4 separate regions of the Homo sapiens genome follow, and all the other regions are linked to region 1. The links are contacts of gene promoters, found by promoter capture Hi-C in human tissues and cell types (Jung and others, 2019). All regions are on one chromosome and are shown on one strand. The core of a region is centred on a gene start or on the middle of the fragment in contact, and the rest is flanking DNA. Distances in the headings are between cores, read along the strand shown.

Region 1 (3,194 bases), core at 252-2,751:
AGTCAAGAAAAAGTTCTTAAAAAATACAATCACACAGGTTTATATTTTACTTCAAGACATCTCAGTTATCTGTTTTGCCTCATAATTCAAACCATAATGCTTTGATTAACGGAGGCTTTTTAGTAAATTTTGATCTGAAAAGGCAGATATTCCTTATTTTTCTAGAATGTCTTGGTGCCACACAGTTTTCATACTCGTTTCTTTGTAACATATTTTAAGCCATCGTCAGCCATTAGTCAGGTATAATTAACTTTAAGAAGAGGCATTCATTTATATTTTTACTTTTGTCAACTTTCTGGAGGCTGGTATTACATCGAGAAATAAGGCCATCCCTGCCCACAAGTTGTCCGAACCCTGATCAGTGCGTCACTGGGGAACGAACCGAGTGTGGATACAACGCACAAACACAAAACTCTGTTCGGCCTCCGTAGGAAGCTGAAATTGAGAAAGGAAACCGAGACAGTAGGAGAAGGGCAATTAAGATGTCTTTAAAAACAAGACGGCCGGTGCGGACAGCAGTGTAGAAGTTAGCAAGCTGGAGTGGGCAATGTCGGTGCCCCATCTCTAACCTATGGGAGTCACCAGAGCGGGGGCGGAGTCCCATGGCGGCCACACCCTGTCCGCCTCCGCAGTCTTTTTACTGGAGAACCGCAGTAAAAGGCGGAAACCGCGGAGGCGTCTTGATTTTCCGGTCGGAGAGATAGCTTGCTTCCTTTAAGCCTCGGGGTAGGGGGGTGGGGAGGGTAGGGGGGTGGGGAGGGTAGGGGGGTGGGGAGGGTAGGGGGGTGGGGGGGTGGGGAGGGTAGGGGGTGGGGGGGTGGGGAGAGTAGGGGGGTGGGGAGAGTAGGGGGGTGGGGAGAGTAGGGGGTGGGGGGGTGGGGAGAGTAGGGGGGTGGGGAGAGTAGGGGGTGGGGAGAGTAGGGGGGTGGGGAGAGTAGGGGGGTGGGGAGAGTAGGGGGGTGGGGGTTGGGGGGTGGCGCCGTGGGGGGTGGCGGGGTGGGGGGTGGGGGGTGGGGAGAGTAGGGGGGTGGGGGGTGGGGAGAGTAGGGCGGTGGGGGAGTGGCGGGGTAGGGGGGTGGCGGGGTGGGGGGTGGGGGGAGCGCGGGCGCTGGGTGGGCGGGGGGTGGGGCGGTGGGGGGGCCTGCCCCGCCCCAACCGCCGCGCCTGACGGTCGTCCATTGGTTGTTTGCATTCGAACTACATTTCCCAGCAGGCCCTGGGGTTAGACTGGCCGCAGCTGGAGAGGTGCCAGCCCGTCGTGGATGACTAGAGCCAACCACCTGCCTTCCGTCTTCCAGGCAGAACCACAGAGAGGCTACAGCCGTCCTGGCCTCCCTCCGGCCCTGAGAGCTCCTCTGGCCTGTCTCAAGTCTTAACGTCTCAAGCGCAGACTGCCGGCTCCGAACGGGGAGACCAGGCTTCTGCACCGGAAACAAGGCACCGGTTGTGACGTCACAGCCGCAGAGCGCCCGACTTCCCAGAAGGCACCGAGTCCCTGCCGTTCTCCTCAACTGGCGGCGGCGCGAACGAATAGTCGCCGGCGACCTGTGAGGGCACTCGGAAGGGCGAGGGGAGGGCTCGACCGCTCGCGCCTAGTTTTTCTATCTCTCCCGGAGCCTGAGTCTCTGAGCCGTCCCCAGCAAACGCTCAGGGGCTGCAGAGGCCCCGAGAGGTGAGGGGCTCCGTGAGGGCGGGAACCAGGCTGAGGCCGCCTCTGGGGAGCGGAGCGTGTCCGTTGCTGAGGGAGCAAGGCCGGGTAGGGAGCCTGGTGAGCGCCTCAGGCAGGGGCGCACGCTGAGCTTTACGGTAAAGGTGTTCCTTGACCAGCGGAAGAGGCCCCAGAGTGAGCCTGGCCCGGCGGTCCTTAGTGGGATGTCGCCTGCCGCTCTCAGCAGAGCTTTGACGGCGGAGAGGAGTCGGCAGGCGGTGTGTGGACACCTCCTCGGCCTTGCATCTGCTCCCCGGGAGAGTCACCAACCGCCTCCCCGCCCAAAGGGCACCGGAGGGAGCTTCGGTTCGAGGGGTACAGTATGGCCAGATTCAGTGACCAACCTGCTTTTAGGCAGATGTCCTCGGTATTGACCCCAGATTTCCTGTCTTCTAGCCCATTGCTCTTTCTCCAAGCCTGATTTAACCTATTCCTGGTGGGTTTTACACACCGTCTTTCTTTCTGTCTTTTCTTTCTTTTTCCTTTTATTTTCTTTCTCTTCCCTGATTCCCTTCCTCCTTCTTTCCTTTCTCTTTTCCTTTCTTTTTTTAGAGTCAGGGTCTTGCTTTGTCGCTCAGACTGCAGTGCAGTGGCGCGATCACAGTTCACTGCAGCCTCGACCTCCTGGGCACAAGCAATCCTCCCAGCTCCCCAGTAGCTGGGACCACAGGCTTGTGTCGCCACGCCCAGCTAATTTTTTTTTTTTTTATGGAGTCGGTGTCTTGCTGTGTTGCCCAGGCTGGTCTTGAACTCCTGGACTCAAGCGATCCACCCGCCAGGGCCTTCCAAAGTGCTGGGATTACAGGTGTGAGCCACCGGTACCTGGCCACACTTTGTATTTCTCAGGAGGCTGGACCTTGGCCTTCTCCGCTCCACCCTTACTCCCTTCCCTTTGGACTTGAGGTTTGCACAGTCTCTGTTTTTCATTCTCAGGATCTTCCTTTCACATCTTCCTAAGCATATCTTGTTCAAATACTGCGTTTCAGTTATGATTTCCCTATCCCAGCTGTCGTTTTCTTTAGATCTCATGTAGCCTCACCAGCCATGCCACATATTGGAGTGCAGTAATGCCGTGCCTGGTCTTTTGGGTAATCCCTGGTTTCTCTGTCTACAGCTTGGCTCTCTGGCAGATTTCCTCTAGTAAGAGGTGGCTCTGGAGGCCCCGCGAAACGAGTGTGGTGTGTGGTTGCAAGGCATGATGGCTGCAAAAGTGGTTCCTATGCCCCCAAAGCCAAAGCAGTCCTTTATACTGAGAGTTCCGCCAGACTCCAAGCTGGGCCAAGACCTACTTCGAGATGCCACTAACGGGCCCAAGACCATCCACCAGCTAGTGCTGGAGCACTTCCTCACCTTCTTGCCCAAGCCAAGCCTGGTCCAGCCCAGTCAGAAAGTCAAGGAGACCTTGGTTATTATGAAAGATGTGAGCTCAAGCCTTCAGAACAGAGGTGAGAAGCACATGCTTGTTTCACTAGAAGAGGAGGAGGAG
Region 2 (3,194 bases), core at 338-2,837, 370 kb before region 1:
CTATGAAATTCTGTTATATGATTGACATGAGTTACACAAACAACACAATAATGCTGCTTCTCTTGTTTTCTTGAATTTATTCCAAAGTGGGTAAGTTGGACTGGGCCAGCCAATTTGGATAGGCTGCTGAGAGGGCCGCATGAGGACTCTGTGTGGGCTCAAGTCCCAGGAGAATCTTCAGGTTCTTTCTTTCTCTCTCTGAAGACCTTTTAATCTTTTCCTTTGTTATTGTTATTGATTTATTTACTTACTTAGTTTTTAGAGACAGGATCTTGGTCTCTCACCCAGGCTGGAGTGCAGTGGTGCTATCATAGCTTACTGCAGCCTTGACCTCCCAGGTTCAAGCAGTCCTCCCTGCCTCAGCCTCCCGAGTAGCTGGGACCACAGGCACCCACCACCGTGCCTGGATAATTTTTTAACTGTTTAAAGCAGTTTTCTTGCCCTGCTGCCCTTGGTATACTGAGCTATATGCTTACTACACATTCTTCATGCAAAACTGAAAACTACCCTTGCATATATAATACACCATGGGCTCTCTGAGCTCCTGAGTTCTGTTTCTAAATTTCCTTTGCCCTCACTTCCTGATCTTAATAACCTCTCAGTAGAGTGGTGGTAGAGTCTCAGGTCGCATAGACTACTGGAAGGCATCAGCAGTGTTGCCTCACCAACTTTACTGGTCTCTCGTGCTCTTTGCCAGTCGGATGAAATCTATGCATGGTTCCCCCAAAACACGTATCCATGCGCGTATCTGCAAAACTGGCACACAACTTCATGGGGTTCATGGATCCCCACTGAAGATCATCCGTGGATCCCAAGTTAAAGAAGAACTGATCTAGGACATAAACCTTTGTCATTAATATTTCTTTAATAATAGCTTTATTGGGGTATAATTGATATTCCATAAAATTCACCATTTAAAAGGGTATGGTTCAGTGGTTTTTAGTATATTCACAGACTTGTCCAACCACCACCACTACCTAACGTTAGAACAGTTTTATCATCCTAAAAATAAACCCCATGCTCATTAGCAGTCACATCCCATTCCCCTCCTGTTATTGATATTTATGTCTATATTGCCATAAACAAAGAGGTTACCAACAAGCAACCAGTCCTCTTCACATTTGTGAGTCAAACCTAAACTAGTTGATAAAGGACTCTTGAAACTTGCGTCTAACCTGTATCTGGTAGAAAAGTCTTTTATTTCTCCAGCTACAACAGATGGTTGTGAATATTTTCCTCCTTGCCAGAGAATGTGCCCAACAGCGACTCCCAGCCTCCTCCTTCCTGTTTGACAACAGCAGTGCCAAGTCCCTCCAAACCCCGCACAGCACAATTGGTCCTACAGCGAATGCAGCAGTTCAAGAGAGCAGACCCCGAGCGTTTGAGACACGCTTCAGAAGAGTGCTCCCTCGAGGCTGCGCGGGAAGAAAATGTCCCAAAGGATCCTCAAGAGGAGATGATGGCGGGGAATGGTATGATGAGTGTGTTTCTGTCTTCCACACAGAGATAAGTTAATACAACTCTGAGGAAGGGAGGCGGGAAGGAATCAGCATTTGTTGAGTTTCTTCTGTGGATAGGCTCTCTGCTTGATGTTTTACCTTTGCCACTTCACTGGATCCAGCCAGAGAATGAAGAGTCTCTGGGATCATTTCCCACCTAGCTTCCTTGATAAGGTACCGTTTTGTTTTTTTTTCTGAGACAGAGCCTTGCTCTGTCACCCAGGCTGGAGTGCAGTGACATGATCTCAGCTCACTGCAACCTCCGCCTCCCAGGTTCAAGCAATTATCTTGCCCCAGCCAGTGGGATTACAGACGTGTGCCACCACACCTGGCCAATTTTTGTATTTTTAGTAGAGACAGGGTTTCGCCAAGTTGGCCAGGCTGGTCTCGAACTCCTGACCTCAAGTGATCTGCCTACCTCAGCTCCCCAAAGTGCTGGGATTACAGGCGTGAACCATTGCACCTGGCCCTCTTCCTTTTTTTTTTTTTTTTTTTTTTTTGAGATGGAGTCTCGCTCCGTCACCCAGGCTGGAGTGCAGTGGCACGATATTAGCTCACTGCAAGCTCCACCTCCCAGGTTCACGCCATTCTCCTGCCTCAGCCTCCCGAGTAGCTGGGACTACAGGCTCCCACCACCACGCCTGGCTAATTTTTTGTATTTTTAGTAGAGACAAGGTTTCACCTTGTTAGCCAGGATGGTCTCGATCTCCTGACCTCGTGATCCACCCGCCTTGGCCTCCCAAAGTGCTGGGATTACAGGCGTGAGCCACTGTGCCTGGCCTCCTTTTTTTAAAAATTATGACTTTTTATTATGAAAGCTTTCCCTTTCAGTTTTTTCCTTTTAAAAAGATAACCCTCAGTATTCACAAAGAACTCTTCCTTTCAGAAAAGGTTTTTTTGTTGTTGTTGTTTTAATTACAATGAAGCCAGGCATGATGGCTCATGCCTATAATCCCAAAACTTTGGGAGGCCAAGGCAGGAGGACTACTTGAGGTCACAAGTTCGAGACCAGCCTGGACAACATAGTGAGACCCCCATCTCTACAAAAAAATTTTAGGGGCCAGGCGTGGTGGCTCACGCCTGTAATGCCAGCACTTTGGGAGGCCGAGGTGCGCAGATCACAAGGTCAGGAGATTGAGACCATCCTGGCTAACACAGTGAAACCCCATCTCTATGAAAAATACAAAAAATTAGCAAGGTATGGTGGTGGGTGCCTGTAGTCCCAGCTACTCGGGAGGCTGAGGCAGGAGAATGGCGTGAACCTGGGAGACAGAGCTTGCAGTGAGCCGAGATTGCACCACTGCACTCCAGCCTGGGCAACAGAGCAAGACTCTGACTCAAAAAAAAATTTTTTTTTAATTAGCTGGGCATGATGGTGCACAACTGTAGTCCCAGCTACTCGGGAGGCTGAGGTGGGAGGATTGCTTGAGCCCAGGACGTTGAGCTGCAGTGAGCTGTGATTGCATCATTGCACTCCAGGGCAACAGAGTGAGACCCTGTCTCAAAAAAAAAAAAAAAAAAATTACAATGAATCCCCTAATCCCCTATACCTCAATCTAGATTTAACAAATGTTAACATTTGGCCATTTGTTTATGTCTTTATAAATATACATTTTTTTTTTTTTTTGAGATGGAGTCTTGGTCTGTCTCCCAGGTTGGGGTGCAGTGGCGCAATCTCGGCTCACTGCAAACTCC
Region 3 (3,194 bases), core at 339-2,838, 290 kb before region 1:
ATCAAAGATTTGACAACCCTGGAGTCCAGTGTACACTGCCAGCAAAACAAACACATTACATGAGCAATCCTCAGACTGACCAGGGAGAAAAAACATGTACTGATATTTTTTTCACAATGATATTAACAAAATGACCTGTCACCCAGTACAAAATAACACACCAGAAGGAATGGCTGAACAGAGGACAGGCTCAGCTCACCTCAAACCTTTCTTGCTCCATCCTATGATGGTCTTCAAGCTGTTGTTCCAGATAAGTCAGATTTTGAAATTTCTCCAGATAAGTGTCATACTGCTTTTGTAATTCTTCCTCAGTCTTCTCATACTCATCCATAAAACATGGCCTAAAAGAAGCAAATGAAATAAAAAGGAAAGGTGAATTATATGCAGTAGTTTGAAATGGGTATTCACAGTTTCAGATTCCATGGTGGCTTTCTCTGGAAACCCTTAATTAGAGAAGGTCCTTCATTCTTGTAATGCTTAAAAATATTTTCCCTTTTCTGCTTTCTCCCCCCAAAATGAACATACTTCTTTTTCATCATAAATAAGATGTGCTCTTTGTAAAAACTTGAAATAATCCTGAAAGTATGAAGAATGACGTAAAAATTACTGATAATCCCATCACCAGGTATAAGCGCTTGATAGTTGACATACATCCTTCCAGACTTTTCTATGCATAAATATAGATAGGAATGCATTTAAAAAAAAAATTAAATATACCAAGAAATTTTATAATCTTTATTTCATTTCAATATACCGTAATCTCAATAGAGTTAAAAATGATCAGGCTGGGTGCATCGGCTCACACCTGTAACCCTAGCACTTTGGGAGGCTGAAGTAGGAGGAGGATTGAGCCCTGGAGTTCAAGGCTGCAGTGAGTGAGGATCCTCTGACCTTGCCGTGGCACTCCAGCCCTCCAGCCTGGGTGACACATTGAGACCCCATCTCTAAAGGCAAAAAAATCACATACCAGACACATCTCTCCAAATCAATAAATATATATATTATTATCTTATTTGGGTATAATGTTCTACTGTTGGCCGGGTGCGGTGGCGCACGCCTGTAATCCCAGCACTTTGGGAGACTGAGGCGGGTGGATCAACTGAGGTCAGGAGTTTCAGACCAGCCTGGCCAACATGGTGAAACCTCGTCTCTACTAAAAATACAAACATTAGCCAGGCGTGGTGGCACATGCCTGTAATCCCAGCTACTCGGGTGGCTGAGGCAGGAGAACTGCTTGAACCTGGGAGGTGGAGGTTGCAGTGAGCCGAGATTGCGCCACTGCACTCCAGCCTAGGCAACACAGAGAGACTCCATCTCAAAAGAAATAATAATAATAATAATAATGTTCTACTGTCAGGATATTATAAATTTAAAGCAATCCTCTAAAAAGGGGACCACAGGTTGTTACGAATTAAGGCTGGTGGTTTTTTTTTGTTTGTTGAGACAGGGTCTCACTTTGTCACCCAGGCTACAGTGCAGTGGTGTGATCATGGCTTACTGCAGCATCGAACGCCTGGGCTCAGGTGATCCTCCTGTCTCAGGCCCCCAAGTAGCTGGGACTACAGACATGTGCCACTATGCCCAGCTATTTTTTATATTTTTTTTTTGTAGAGATGGGGTTTCGCCATATTGCCCAGGCTGGTCTTGAACCCCTGAGTTCAAGCGATCTGCCCGCCTTGGCCTCTCAAAGTGCTGGGATTATAGACGTGAATCACTGTGCCCAGTCTAAAGAGGTTTTTAAACGATAAAAAATTTTTTAAAAAGGCCAGGCGTGATGATGACTCATGCCTGTAATCCCAGCACTTTGGGAGGCCAAGGCAGGTGGATCACAAGGTCAGGAGTTCAAGACCAGCCTGGCCAACATGGTGAAACTCCGTCTCTACTAAAAATACAAAAATTAGCTGGGCGTGGTGGCGGCCGCCTGTAATCCCAGCTACTTGAGAGGCTGAGGCAGGAGAATCGCTTGAATCCGGGAGGCAGAGTTTGCAGTGAGCCGGGATCGCGCCATTGCACTCCAGCCTCGGCAACAAGAGCGAAACTCCAACTCAAAAAAAAAAAACAAAAACAAAAAAAACCATAAAAATCTATACTGGTTTGCTGAACTTTTTCTTTTTTCTTATTATTGACCTTAAAGGGAAAATTCTACTCTTTTAAAAATATAAGCAGATAAACTCAGAAATAATTATAATCTTTTGAACTAGAGCAAAACAAAGAGACTTTTCTGTTAAAATGATTTGGAGCTTAACAAAAATGAATTGATGCTTTAAAAGTGGAATGTGTCAAGGAGATCAATCTATATGGCGGCAATGACTTCTGTTTTTTTTTTTTTCCCTCTCTGAGGCTCCAGAGGTAAAGAGCCAGTTTCAGGAGGGGAAGGGCCTTGGCCTTGCGCTGGGCAGGGAGGAGCCAGGGCGCTCCCTGTGGTTGCTGTCGCTGCCTCCAGGTGCTGCCTCCCCACAGACCTCGGGACAGTGGGCAGGGTGTAGCCAGCCACCAACATCCAAAAAGGCAAAACATCCGAGCAGAGTAGGCAGCTGGGAAGAGGAGGGAGCCAAGAAGAAAGAAAAATAAAGGGTGAATGAAAAGGGAGAAAGAGCAGAAGCATGGGGGAGGGAAAGAGGCACAGAACGAGGAAGAGAAGAGAGAGAGAGCCGGCACCACTATTCTCCATCGGTATTCCTGGGAAATATATTTCCAATGAGGTAACGTAGGAAGAAAGATGAATTACTGACTGGTGAGGAATGATCAAGGTTTAAATAAAGTCTAAAATCTATGCCAACAAACAGGCAGGAGTATGTTTCTGTTTCTACCTAATTTATGGCAAGATCTTAGGAGACCACGTCTGGATTTCCCCGTCTGGATTCACTTACTCTGCCTTGAGTTCCAAGAAGCTATAAAAGCTTAAAGGGCAGTTCAAGCTTTAAGCAGTTTTCCAGACATACCGCAAGCAGTAAAGAGAATGAGTTTAGCCATCTGCTTGTTATGACAGGCAACACATGTACATTTGAGGTGAAGATACCCTTATGTAAGGCTTTTTTTCATTGCTTGAGAAGAGTTAAGATCACATTCTATTCTCTTAAGTCTTTGTTCTAACTTTTTTTTTCTTTTAGAGTCAGGGCCTTGTTCTGTTACTCGGCCTTGTTCTGTGGCTCAGGCTGGAGTGCAGTGATGCAACCATAGCTCACTGCAGCCTC
Region 4 (3,194 bases), core at 437-2,936, 270 kb after region 1:
ACTGGACGTCGACTTCCGAGTGGACAGCGGGAAGTCATTAAAGGGGACTTGAGAGCTGTTTTTAGGCTTCAGCTGTTGCTAGACTTGACTCCATATATGAGGACTTTGAGGCCATCTGTATTCTTCACCCCCACCCGGCATGGGCCTCAGCCACTTCCGTCCCTCAAACCCCACTTTTTTTTTTTTTTTTTGAGACGAGTCTCGCTCTGTCACCCAGGCTAGAGTGCATTGGCGCGATCTCTGCTCACTGCAAGCTCCGCCTCCCGGGTTCAAGCGATTCTCCTGCCTCAGCCTCCTGAGTAGCTGGGATTACAGGCGCCCGCCACCATGCCCCGCTAATTTTTTGTATTTTTAGTAGAAATGGGGTTTCACCATGGTAGCCAGGCTGGTCTCGAACTCCTGACCTCAGATGATCCGCCTGCCTTGGCCTCCCAAAGTGCTGGGATTACAGGCTGAGCCACCGCGCCTGGCCTCCAACCCCACTTAAAAGCAGAAGTGAGCTCCTGAGCTTTGCGGCTCTCCTCCCGCTGGGTCCATCCTGCCTCAGACCGTAGCTGTGGCTCTGAACCCCAAAATAAGTTGTATGACAAGAGCCCCACTCTGACAAGGCCCCGCCCATTCGGCCCCCGCTCTGACCAGGCCCCGCCCATACGGGTCCTTTGAGTGCCCAGGTCCGTTTCTCTCCTGGCCCTGAACTGGAGCTCTGCAGAAATTGTTCACCTGAGGAGGATCCCTTTTGCGCCAGGGTTCCGCGCGCCCCGCCCCGCCCCGCCCCGCCCCTCATTCTGGCCCCGCCCCCAGGTTCTCCAGGAGGCTGGGCTGCCAGTCCACGGCAGACCTCCACCCCGCCCGCACGGAGGCCCCGCTTCGGGCCATCCCTGCAATGGTGAGCCCAGCCTCGCCCCCAGCGCAGGCCCCGCCCCTCACCGGCAGAAGTTGTGCGCGCCCAGCCCCCAGCGGCCGTGGGGGTCGCTGGCGCTGCTGTAGCTGTGTTGCTGCGTCTGGTCCCAGAAGAGGCACGGGCGGCCCGCCCCGCGCGGGCCAGTGCGGTTCTGGTGGCCGCGGTAGTCAGCCCCATTCACCTGGAAGCATTCGGACAGGCCTGCACGGCAAAGGCAGGGCCTGGGGAGGTCCGGACCCACGCCGGGCATCCTCGCGCCCCTACGCCACCTCCCGCCTGGGTCCCCAGCCAGCGACCCCGCACCCGCCCCTGCAGGAGCCCTCGGGCTGCTCAGCTGCTCCGGCCACCTGCTCTGTCCCCCTCCCTAGCCTTGGGGGCCTGGCCCTGGGGGCGGAGGCCGAGGAAGGGGTGGTGAACACGGCCCGACAGCCGTGCGGGGACTTACCTGGACTGTGCAGGCTCCCAGCCGAGGCCCCACGCGGCTGCAGCAGCGGGAGGAAGAGGAGAAAGAGGAAGCCCTGCAGGGCTTGTGTCCCCATCGCTCTCAACCAAGGATAGGTCACCCTCGCCCGGACACGGCCCGGGCTGCCCCCGGGGTCGCTTCGGGGTCTCCCAGGAGACCTAGGGGGCGTTGTCCTCTGACAGTCTCCCCTCGTCCGACTCTGAGCCGCGCTTTCCGTCTGGGGTGGGTAAATCTCTCCTGGGGGTCTTTGCCTCCCAGGGCCTCTGCCCCTAGAGGCGTCTCTCTGTCCCTGTCCCTACCCGGGTCTCTCCGGGGGGAATCTGGCCGGGGGCGTTCTCAGTCTCTGTCTCAGCGAGCTCTGGGCGGTGCCTCAGCCTCTACGCCCGCCCCCTCCCACTGAGCCTAGCTCTCGGCGTCTCCCTCGCCCAGGTCTCCAACGGGCTGACTCCTGCCCGCCTCGCATCCCTCCGTGGGTCCCTCCCCCTGGGTCTCTCCCTCCCCCCATGGGAGGCCGGGAAGCCCCGCCCAGCACTGGAGCGGAGGCAGCAGGTCCAGACGCCTCCCACGCCCGTTCCCCCGACCCCGGGCGTCCAGCGCTTCCCGGCCCCCTCTCCCTCAGGTCGGTGCCGGTTCAAGTGGGAAGGTGTGGAGGGGGACAGGCGGGGCAAGCGGACGGAAGGCCCTTAAAATGGGAGATACAGAACCCCCTCACGTGGTCGCACGCGCCCCAGGACACCCGGAATGTCCGAGTTACAAGCGCCCTCCTCCCAGTGCACGCACGCGCTCGCACTCTCTCCCATTCATTGCCAGGCGCTCACGCGCACACTTTCTTCGGATCCGCACGCCCCTCCCGCCCCTGGTCCAGATGCCGCTGGCCTGACGGAGGAAGCTCCACTCCCTGCCCCCGCGCCCACGAGACAGGCGGGAGTCGTGGACGCTCAGTCCGGGACAGGCAGGGGCAGCTGGTGTCTGGGGAGAAAGGCAGCTGCGCCCCAGGTCCCAGTCTGTCCCCTCCTCCTCCCCCTGCCCCGCCCTTCCCTGGGACCCCCAGCCCAGACTCTCCCGAGCCTTCACACTGCAGTGGAATTCCCCCAGCCGTGCCCCCCACCTGGCGGGGGAGGGGGAGGGGAGCAGGCCCAGGCAGGCGTGGGGGGAAATTCCCCGCCCCCTCCCCCTGGGCCCGACTCCTCCGAGTCCTCTGATCTCCCAGCGCCACCCGCCCGCTGCCCCCAGGGCTTGGGGGGAGGCCAGCGCAGGTGCGTGGGAGGGCGGAGGCGGGGGCCGGGGGAAGGAACTGGTGGGGGCCGGGCGCCCAGAGCGGCCCCGCCCCGCCCAGACCTCTTTGCCCCTCAGTCCAGCCTGCCCAGCCCGCACCAGGCCCTCGCCAAGCTGTCGAGCCCAGGCCGACCAGTCCCCGCCCTGCAGCCCCCACACCGTCTCTGCCCCGGTGTCGATGGAGAAGAAAGATGGGGTTCAGGGAGGTTCTGTCAGGCCCAGGCACCCACTGCGGTGCTGGGACCCGCGAGGATCTTCCAGCTGGCGCCTCACGCGAGTGTGCTCTGGAGGAGGGGCGTGGAGCCGAGGTGGGGGCATTTGAAGGAGATGGACTTGCTGAGACTCTAGGCCAGGGTCCTGGTCGCCTCCTCCGGGAGCCCTCTCAGAGGCCAGGCTGGCCCGGCTCACTGAGCCCTGAGCTGGGGCCTCCAGCACCCACGGGCTCCCTGGAACCCAACTGCGCTTCCCGACGAGGGAGCATCCGGGACCACCTGTCTGCCCGGTTTCTCTTGGCGGGGGCTCAGTGAAGTCCTCCCGGGCTCCAGTCCACAGAGG

Evidence for each region. The method cuts DNA at HindIII sites, captures the fragments that hold promoters and counts their contacts. A contact is called where the count stands out against the background at its distance.
Region 2: a contact is called between a fragment that was not itself captured here and the fragment with the promoter of ZNF200 in region 1, in 2 of the 25 tissues and cell types used here (IMR-90 fibroblasts and dorsolateral prefrontal cortex).
Region 3: a fragment that was not itself captured here is called in contact with the fragment with the promoter of ZNF200 in region 1 in 1 of the 25 tissues and cell types used here (bladder).
Region 4: the fragment with the promoter of KREMEN2 here is called in contact with the fragment with the promoter of ZNF200 in region 1 in 1 of the 25 tissues and cell types used here (spleen).

Annotation. Positions count from the first base shown.
Region 1 is chr16:3,233,465-3,236,658 of GRCh38, reverse strand. ZNF200 (zinc finger protein 200) reads left to right here and starts at 1,501. Exons shown (of 5, transcript NM_198088.3): 1 at 1,501-1,672; 2 at 2,823-3,153. The coding sequence starts at 2,904. RefSeq lists enhancers at 1,183-1,392, 1,403-1,462. The HindIII fragment of the contact is 11,744 bases long and covers 1-3,194 here.
Region 2 is chr16:3,604,752-3,607,945 of GRCh38, reverse strand. SLX4 (SLX4 structure-specific endonuclease subunit) reads left to right here. Exons shown (of 15, transcript NM_032444.4): 3 at 1,248-1,472. Among named protein-coding and RNA genes, the nearest start is that of SLX4, 5.3 kb to the left of the region's middle. The HindIII fragment of the contact is 4,547 bases long and covers 1-3,194 here.
Region 3 is chr16:3,520,305-3,523,498 of GRCh38, reverse strand. CLUAP1 (clusterin associated protein 1) reads right to left here. Exons shown (of 12, transcript NM_015041.3): 8 at 200-341. Among named protein-coding and RNA genes, the nearest start is that of CLUAP1, 21 kb to the right of the region's middle. The HindIII fragment of the contact is 3,871 bases long and covers 1-3,194 here.
Region 4 is chr16:2,962,767-2,965,960 of GRCh38, reverse strand. It overlaps KREMEN2 (kringle containing transmembrane protein 2), which reads right to left and starts at 1,686. Exons shown (of 9, transcript NM_172229.3): 1 at 1,347-1,686; 2 at 928-1,102. The coding sequence starts at 1,440. RefSeq lists enhancers at 188-307, 1-869, 2,838-2,967, 2,454-3,194 and silencers at 668-1,037, 1,108-1,357, 1,888-1,967, 2,518-2,647, 2,678-2,757. The HindIII fragment of the contact is 31,540 bases long and covers 1-3,194 here.